Regions from separate parts of the Homo sapiens genome. Here regions 2 and 3 are each linked to region 1. Evidence: promoter capture Hi-C in human tissues and cell types (Jung and others, 2019). All regions are on one chromosome and are shown on one strand. Each heading gives the region's core, a stretch centred on a gene start or on the middle of the fragment in contact. The rest is flanking DNA. Distances are from core to core; before and after follow the strand shown. Region 1 holds the start of RASL11B (RAS like family 11 member B). Region 2 overlaps LOC107986279 (a long non-coding RNA gene). Region 3 has its middle 200 kb from the start of SPATA18.

What was found. The method cuts DNA at HindIII sites, captures the fragments that hold promoters and counts their contacts. A contact is called where the count stands out against the background at its distance.
Region 2: a contact is called between a fragment that was not itself captured here and the fragment with the promoter of RASL11B in region 1, in 2 of the 25 tissues and cell types used here (H1 embryonic stem cells and mesendoderm cells).
Region 3: a contact is called between a fragment that was not itself captured here and the fragment with the promoter of RASL11B in region 1, in 2 of the 25 tissues and cell types used here (mesendoderm cells and thymus).

What each region holds. Positions count from the first base shown.
Region 1 is chr4:52,861,031-52,863,730 of GRCh38, reverse strand. It overlaps RASL11B (RAS like family 11 member B), which reads right to left and starts at 1,414. Exons shown (of 4, transcript NM_023940.3): 1 at 1,082-1,414; 2 at 407-463. The coding sequence starts at 1,223. LOC124900700 (a long non-coding RNA gene) reads left to right here and starts at 1,526. Exons shown (of 2, transcript XR_007058115.1): 1 at 1,526-1,647; 2 at 2,000-2,582. RefSeq lists silencers at 1,095-1,389, 1,361-1,850. The HindIII fragment of the contact is 6,378 bases long and covers 1-2,700 here.
Region 2 is chr4:52,341,629-52,344,328 of GRCh38, reverse strand. All of the region lies in intron 1 of LOC107986279 (a long non-coding RNA gene), which reads right to left. Among named protein-coding and RNA genes, the nearest start is that of SPATA18, 290 kb to the right of the region's middle. The HindIII fragment of the contact is 5,584 bases long and covers 1-2,700 here.
Region 3 is chr4:52,250,271-52,252,970 of GRCh38, reverse strand. No RefSeq gene overlaps it. Among named protein-coding and RNA genes, the nearest start is that of SPATA18, 200 kb to the right of the region's middle. The HindIII fragment of the contact is 4,064 bases long and covers 1-2,700 here.

The DNA of each region.
Region 1 (2,700 bases), core at 165-2,664:
CTTTAAAAGGTCACCTCTGAAAGGCAGCCAGCAGAGAAGGAGAGGGGTGGGGGAAGGAGCTAGGGACTCCTTTTTTTTTTTTTTACGACTTTTGCAGGAGTGTTTTGAAGGGAGAGGTTCTTGACTACAAAGGGTGCTTCCAACTGGGGTCACTATAGTTAAAACATACCAAGGGGAATACTTTCAGGCACTTGATAAAATGATGAATGGGCTTGGAATGGAATGAGGCCAGATGGTAGTTATGGGAGGGGGGCGCCATGGAGGGCTGGGGACTGGGGAAAGTTTTAAGTGGCGGGATCCTCAGGCTCGGACTGTCACTGAAAGAACCTCCCTGGGAAGCGCTGGAAAATGGGAACCGCAGTCCTCCTGCAATGGGACAGAATTTTTCTCAAATGCATTGTCTCACCTGCATTTCTTTCATAGTCACCGATGAATCGTTTGGTGAGGAACCGGACCACCAGTGCTGCACGTCAGAAAAAAGAACGTCAAAGTGTTAACCTTGGAAGTTAGATTGTTCTCCACCCCACCCCCTGCCTGGAAAACAGTTCTCCCAAAGAAAGCCATAGATGGCCACCAAGTGAAATTCCTACCCTGTAGCTCCTTGACCCTTCTTTCCAGACAAAAAGGAGGGGGCTAGAAGGCATCGTGAATTATGGCTCTGTGCAGCTGGAAGGCTCACTGGGCCCACCCCCTCCTCTGAGCCCGGCTGAGCCACACCTAAGCCTTCCAGTAGACCCATGTCTTCCTAACCTTCAAGACCTCCCAGGGGGGCTAGCTTCACTAACTCCCCTTTCTGTGCCAGGCATTGCCAGAGGCTCAAACACCCCAAAGTTCTGATGGCGGCGGTGCCGGTGGTCCCCAGAAAGCTGCCTGGCCATTCTTGATCCTTGTTTCCCCCGTCTGTGGAAGCAGGCGGGTGGCGTAGACAACGGCTAAGCCCACTCCCAAGGGGCAGCGGCTCCCTGCGCGGGGACGGAGAGCGGTCGGGCTGCAGCTCCCACCGCTCCCCACGCCTTGTTCAGCCTCAACTCCCGTCAGGGGTCGTCCAAGACCAGACCCAGGGCTAAGCGCGACGACTCACCGGTCTTGCCCACGCCGCTGGCGCCCACCACGGCGATCTTGACCAGGCGGCGGCCGGCGGCGCCCACACAGCAGTCGGAGGCCGCGGCGTTGCCCGGCGCGGGGTACTCGGCGATGGTGCACATGTTCTGAATGAGGCGCATCGCCTCGGCTGCGGCGCACCGCGCGGGAAGGGACTGAGGGACTGGAGAATGCTAGCGCTGCGCGGGAGCGGGCGGGAGGACCCGACTGCGGGGCTCCGCGGTAAGAAATAACAACAATAAATAAGTGCAGGTACGGGCGGGGTGGGGCCGAGCGCCGAGGTTCCGCAGGGCTCAGGCTCCAGACCCAGACTGCACTCGCGCGGCGCGCCGGCTGTTTTCTCCGCGGCCGGCCCCGCCCCCTCTCCCCACAGCCAATCCCGGGGCGCCCTACACGAGGCCCCGCCCCCGGCGCCGCTCCGCGCGCGCGACGCCCCCGGAGGCGCCTGGAGTCAGTGCGGAGCCCCGTGAGGCGCGGGGAGAAGAGGCAGCGGGCGGAGGGGAGCAGCGGGTGGTCCGAGGCGGCGCAGCCCAGGGTGGGCGCCTGGTAGGTCCTGCCGCGCGAGCATGGGGCAGCTGCTGTGGCTGCGGGGCCAGGAAGAGAGCGCAGCCTCCACAGAGCCATTCCGGACCGCTGCCTCCGCCGGCTCCACAGCCCACGCGCGCACTCGCTGCAGCCCCAACCTAGGGCGTCTGCTCTGGGCGGGCCGGGAGCGGTGTTTGCTCCCCGGCTTAGTGCCGCCCGCCCTGATTTGGAGCGATTGCACTGGCTTGGGTACATCCCAGCTCATAGATTCAGCTACAGTTGGCAATCATCCGCAAAGACTCCAGCCTAAGACCTTTAGACCCCCGTAAAATGTGACATTTGAAGCAAAAATATCATCCACGTTTTATCCTAGACCCACGTTCTCTGGCTCTTGTCGACGGCGCAAGCTAACGCAAACACACATGGTCGGACGCATGCACAGCACGCCTAGAAGCGGATCAAGAAGTAATTATAGAACAAGCTTTCCAGCGCCTCACTCAGTCACACCTCCTTCAAGAGCTGTGAAATGGAAAGAAAACAGTTACTCCAGCTGCGACGTCTGAAGGGGCCCCGCACTTCGTCCCTGGTCATAAGACACCGCAAGAGTTTAGTTAAGTGGCTTGATACCAAGGAAGAGGTGGGCCCTGCACTCCTAAAATCCCAAGCTCCGGCCCCTTACAGTCTCATCTGAGAAACACATCTTCAACGGCAGGCCAAATTCCTCCTGCGAGCAACATTCTGTAGCTGCAGCTGATGGCAAGATGTCACCAGCGGCTGATGGCAAAATGTCACCAGAGTCGCGGGTTAACCACCCCATCCGCTATCCAAGGCCCTCTCCCCGCTACCCTTTCAACCTTGTCCCAGAGGCTTTTATGTTGGGGTATGGCAACAAACTCTGTGGCTTTGTGTACCCACCCACATTAAAGGCTAAAATGTGAAATAAACCAGTGCCCTTATCCGCACATGTCAGTCATCTAATTTGACCCCCTCTTCCAGCCAGAACTTAATTGACCAGGTATTTGACAGAATTTTATGATCCTCAGCCAGTTCAGACTCTGAGATGAACCTCTTGTC
Region 2 (2,700 bases), core at 162-2,661, 520 kb after region 1:
GTCAGTTGTTTTGTTGAAACTGCAAAAGGGAGAGGTAGCATTAGACAGTTGGTTGATATCAGAGATGCAGCAAGTCTTTCCAAAGGGCTGGTTTCTTTCATTTTAACTCTTAGGGAAGACCCAAGGAGAAAATATAATGAGGTATGTCTGACCTCCCATCCCATCATGGCTGGGAACTCAGTTTTCAAGGTTTCTCTGGGGTCCCTTTGGCCAACATGGTGTTCATTCAATTTGTTGGGGGCCTTAGGATTTCATTTTCCTACCATGGGTAGGACATTTCATTGTCCATTTTGAAAAATGACTGGGTATTCTTCAAAAGAAATATGTATAGTAGGAGAACAGAGGTCAGCATTGCATGCCAATAAGATGTACATCTGGATGTAAATCCATGAATATGAAATTGTAAGTTCAGTGGTCATTATTTGAAAGAGGCTATGAGGGGAGAGCAAGCCCAATGGCTCAATTGTGGAAGTTTACTGCTGATATCCAACTAAATAGCAGAATGAATGAGATATTATAATGCAAATTAAGCACATACACATGAACAAACACAATTAGCAAGAAGGAGTGGTGATGGGGGCCCTCAGCTATGCAGATCCCTGCAGGAAGTCTTGGTCTGCTCGAAGATTATTAGGCAAATTCTTGATTACCATGTTGAAAATGTGAACTCTCTCAGAAGTCAGGAATAATCAGGGAAATGGTAACTGTTTACTTGGTGCCAATCAAAAATTTAAAATTGACCACGGAAGTAAAAGTGAGTCTGGAAAGAAAATTCTCCTTCCACCATGATTATAAGTTTCCCGAGGCCTCTTAACAGGCTTCCTGTTAAGCCTGCAGAATTTTGAGTCAATTAAACCTCTATTCTTCATAAATTATCCAGTCTCATGTAGTTCTTTATAGCAGTGTGAAAATAGACTAATACAAAAAATGGGTACCAGGAAAGTGGGACATTGTTATAAAGATAACTGAAAATGAGGAAACGGCTTTAGAACTGGGTAATGGGCAGAGGTTGGAACAGTTTGGAGCACTCAGAAGCCGGAAGATGTGGGAAAGTTTGGAACTTTCTAGAGACTTGCTGAATGGTTGTGACCAAAATGATAACACTCATGTGGACAGTGAAATCCAGGGTGAAGTGGTCTCATATGGAGATAAGGAACTTATTGAGAACTGTAGTAAAGGTCACTCTTGCTTTGCTTTAGCAAAGAGACTGGTGGCATTTTGCCCCTACCCTAGAGATCTGTGGAACTTTGTACTTGAGAGAGATGATTTAGGATATCTGGCAAGAGAAATTTCTAGGCAGCAAGGCATTGAAGATGTGGCCTGACTGCCCCTATCAGTGTAAGTTGTGAAAGGAAGGTAAATCTTGGGGCCCCAAAATTACTAAGTTAAAAAGTGAAAAGTCAAGCTGGGAACTACTTAGGGCAAACCTGACTCCCATTCTATTTAAAGTTATCTCTCTGCTCACTGAGGTAAATGCATACCTGATTGCCACCTTTGGAAAGGCTAATCAGAAACAAAAAAATACAACGGTTTGTCTCTCATCTACCTGTGACCTGGAAGCACCCTCCCTACTTGAGTTGTTCTGCCTTTCTGGACTGAACCAATGTACATTTTACATATATTGATTGATGTCTCATGTCTCCATAAAATGTATATAACCAAGCTGTGTCCCGACCACCTTGGGCACATGTCATCAGGACCTCCTGAGGCTGTGTCATGGGTGAGTGTTCTCAATCTTGGCAAAATAAACTTTCTAAATTAACTGAGACCTATCTCAGTTACTCAGGGTTCACATAGTCATACGTATTTACAAAGAGATGGTCTGAAATTAGAACTTATGTTTAAAAGGAAAGCAGAGCATAACAGTTTGGAAAATTTGCAGCCTGACGGCTGCAGAAATTTGCATAACTAAAGAGAAGCTGAATGTTAATAGCCAAGACAATAGGGAAAATGTCTCCAGGATATTTCAGAGATCTCTGCTGAGCTCCTCCCATCACAAGCCCTGAGGCTTGGGGAAAAAATTACCTTCATGGTCCAGTCCCAGAGCCCAGTCGCTCTGTGAAGCCTCAGGATATGATACCCTGTATCCCAGCTGCTCCAGCTCCCACTGTAGACTAAAAGGGGCCAAGGTACAACTTAGTTCATTGATTCAGGGGATGCAAGCCCCAAGACTTGGTGGCTTCCACGTGCTGTTGGGTCTCTCTCTCTCTCTCTCTCTCTGTGTGTGTGTATGTGTGTGTGTGCAGAAAGCTAGTGTTGAGGTTGGGGAATCTCCACCTAGATTTCACAGGATGTATGGAAATACCTGGATGTCCATGCAGAAGTCTGTTGCAGGGGCAGAGCCCTCATGAAAAACCTCCAGTAGGGCAGTGTGGAGGGGAAATGTGGGGTTGGATCCCTCAAACAGAGTCCCCACTGGAGCACTGCCTAGTGGAGCTGTGGGAAGAGGGCCACTGCCCTCCAGGTCCCAGAATGGTAGATCAACTGACAGCTTGCACCATGTGCCTGCAGGCAATCAATGTCAGCCCATACAAACAGCTGCAGGGACTGTACCCTGAAGAGCCATAGGGGCAGAGCAGCCTAAGGCCTTGGAGCCCACCCCTTACATGAGTGGAGCCTGGATGTGAAACATGGAGTCAAAGGAGATTATTTCAGAGCTTTAAGATTTAATGACTGCCCTGCTGGCTTTCACACCTGCAT
Region 3 (2,700 bases), core at 41-2,540, 610 kb after region 1:
GTCAACCTGCTCAGAATTAATCTCTGTCTTATTCTCAACCTCGGAGTACCTGTTTTTGGCTCCTAGCTGGAGCATATACTTCCCAGCCTGTCAGAACGACCACCCTGCAGGCTGCCATCCTTTGTGAAAAATAAAGCTGTCCTTTTATTTATGAACCTTGTCATTCTTCAGCTGACTATAGATATAAGAGGAAATTTATTATGGAAATTGGCTCATGCAACTACAAAGGCTGAGAAGTCCCACAATCTGCAAGCTGGAAAACCAGGGAAGCTAGAGGTACAATTAAGTCTGAGACCAGAGGCCTGAGAACCAGGGGACCTGATGGTATAAGGAGGTCTGCGAACTGGGGTGCCTGCTGCTGTAAGTCCCAGTGCCAAAGGCCCAAGACCTGGAGTTCTGATGTCTGAGGGCAGAAAAAGATGGAAGAGGCCCCCTCAAGGGGAGAGAGACAGAGAGAATGTGCCCTTCCTCTGCCTTTAGCTCTATCAGGTCCTCAGTAGATTGGTTGATGCTCACCTACCTTGGTGAGGGCAGATCTTCTTTACTCAAACCTACTGACTCAAATGCTAATCTCTTCTGGAAACATCCTAAGACCAGTTCCACCCAAAGCCCAAATGTGTCCAACCAAACCACCTTCCTGCCTATCTGCCCTTTCTTTGATAATAAATCTGAAACCAACTCATGTCCCATAGAACTGATGGTTATGATTCCTTTGAATAAACATAGAAATTGATCCTCCCAGTCTTAAAACTTAAGAAAGCTTAATTTTTCTTATCTGAGTTCCTTTCTCAGAAAACCAACCATCAGGACTCCTAGATAGTATCAAGGAGCTGAAACTCATTAGATCACTGCATTTGGACAATGAGACATCAGATCCCTCACCCGTCATGATTGCCTAACTGACCATCTGCTTCCTATTGACCAACTCCTCTTCCTTACCCTGCCCTTATTCCTGTCTTCCCACACATGGTTACATTTCTTCCCTGCTATTTAAACCCGCAATTTTAGTCAGGCAGGGAGATGGATTTGAGACTGATCTTTCATCTCCTTGGCTACAGGACCTGATTAAAGATTTCTTCCTTTGCAATACTCATTGCCTCAGTGATTGTCTTTCTGTGAAGCCAGCAGTAGGACCTAGACCAAACTCCTGGTGTTTTGGTAACACACCCATTAAGCCTTATCCTTCCTTCTCTGTGCTCTTTTTTAGTGAAAAAAAAAAAAAAAAAAAAAAGCCTACTCCAAAATGCACACTCCTTTATAGCCTACTAATCATTTAAAGGGTGAGAAGGAATAGTCATACAAGCTCTCAGATAAGTCACATTTGGCTCCTTCTTCCATGATCTCTGTACCCCATACCTGAGAGAAGAGGAAGGCAATGGCGAGTTAACTTTACTTTTCAGTTCCTCTTAGACCCACTGCTTCTTGATCTCTTTCCTCCTTCTTTCATTTTCCTAGGAGGGTTATCTCTGAAAGAGATTTACCTCATAAAATTAGACCCTAAGAAAGTGGGAGAGGCCAAGCGCGATGGATCACGCCTGTAATACCAGCTTTTTGGGAGGCCGAGGTGGGTGGATCACCTGAGGTCAGGAGTTTGAGACCAGCCTGACCAAGATGGCAAAACCCCATCTCTACTAAAAATACAAAAAGTTAGCCAAATGTGGTGGTGGGCACCTGTAATTCCAGCTACTTGGGAGGCTGAGGCAGGAGAATCACTTGAACCCGGGAGGCAGAGGTTGCAGTGAGCCAAGATCACACTATTGTACGCTATCCTGGGCGACAGAGTGAGACTCTGTGTCAGAAAAAAAAAAAAAAAAAAGAAGTGGCAGAGAGGAAGCACACTGACTTGAAAATCATCTAAGGATTCCTCTAAGTGTACAGTCTTTTAAAATATATAGAACAATATAACAAGTGTATAAGTAGACATGTTTAAAACCAATATTCTATTAATATATTTAAAATTCCATTTTTGTTTTAATTTAAATTACATTAGTATATTATAATGTCACATGTTTACAGCTGTATATTCTTAATTCCATATTAATAGTTGTGTGACACTAATAGCTACTTAAGGAAATAGCTCTCTGTCAAAGCTTTATAACATTTTGTCCTATTATGAAGATGACTCTTGTCATCCTCTTCCATTGTCCTTATCTCATCCCAGTCCTTTCATCTTCTTTTGCTACATGAATTCCTCCAGAGGACCACTTTGTTCACTGCTTTATAGTAATTAATTGACTAATTTCAAAGACAGGAGAAAAATAGATTTATTTTGCCTTCCAACTGAGGGTACAGAATGGACCAGGAGGAATCCCAAACTCATTTTCTATGTGAGCACTTATGTGCATGTCTCATTCATTGGGAACCTAGCCCCATGAGGCTCCAGCTTTAGAGCAATTAACAGGATACAGATGGAACAAGTGCTAACCTTGCCTCCAAAACCACACAGAGTGGGGCCTTAAGAAAAACCCTGGGGTGGTTTTGGAGCACCCTGCTGGCATGGAAGCCTGGAGACCAACCTTTGTGAAGAATGAAGGTTGCCACTGGGAAAGAAGGCCATTCTCTAGCACCTTAAGAACTGACTAGTGTAGCTCACAGCTCCGCAGACACATGTTCTCACTCTGAAAGGGAACGAGGGTCTCTAGGGACATTGTGCAGCTGCAATAGCTTATAAAGCCAGTAGCATGACTTCATCTCTGGCTT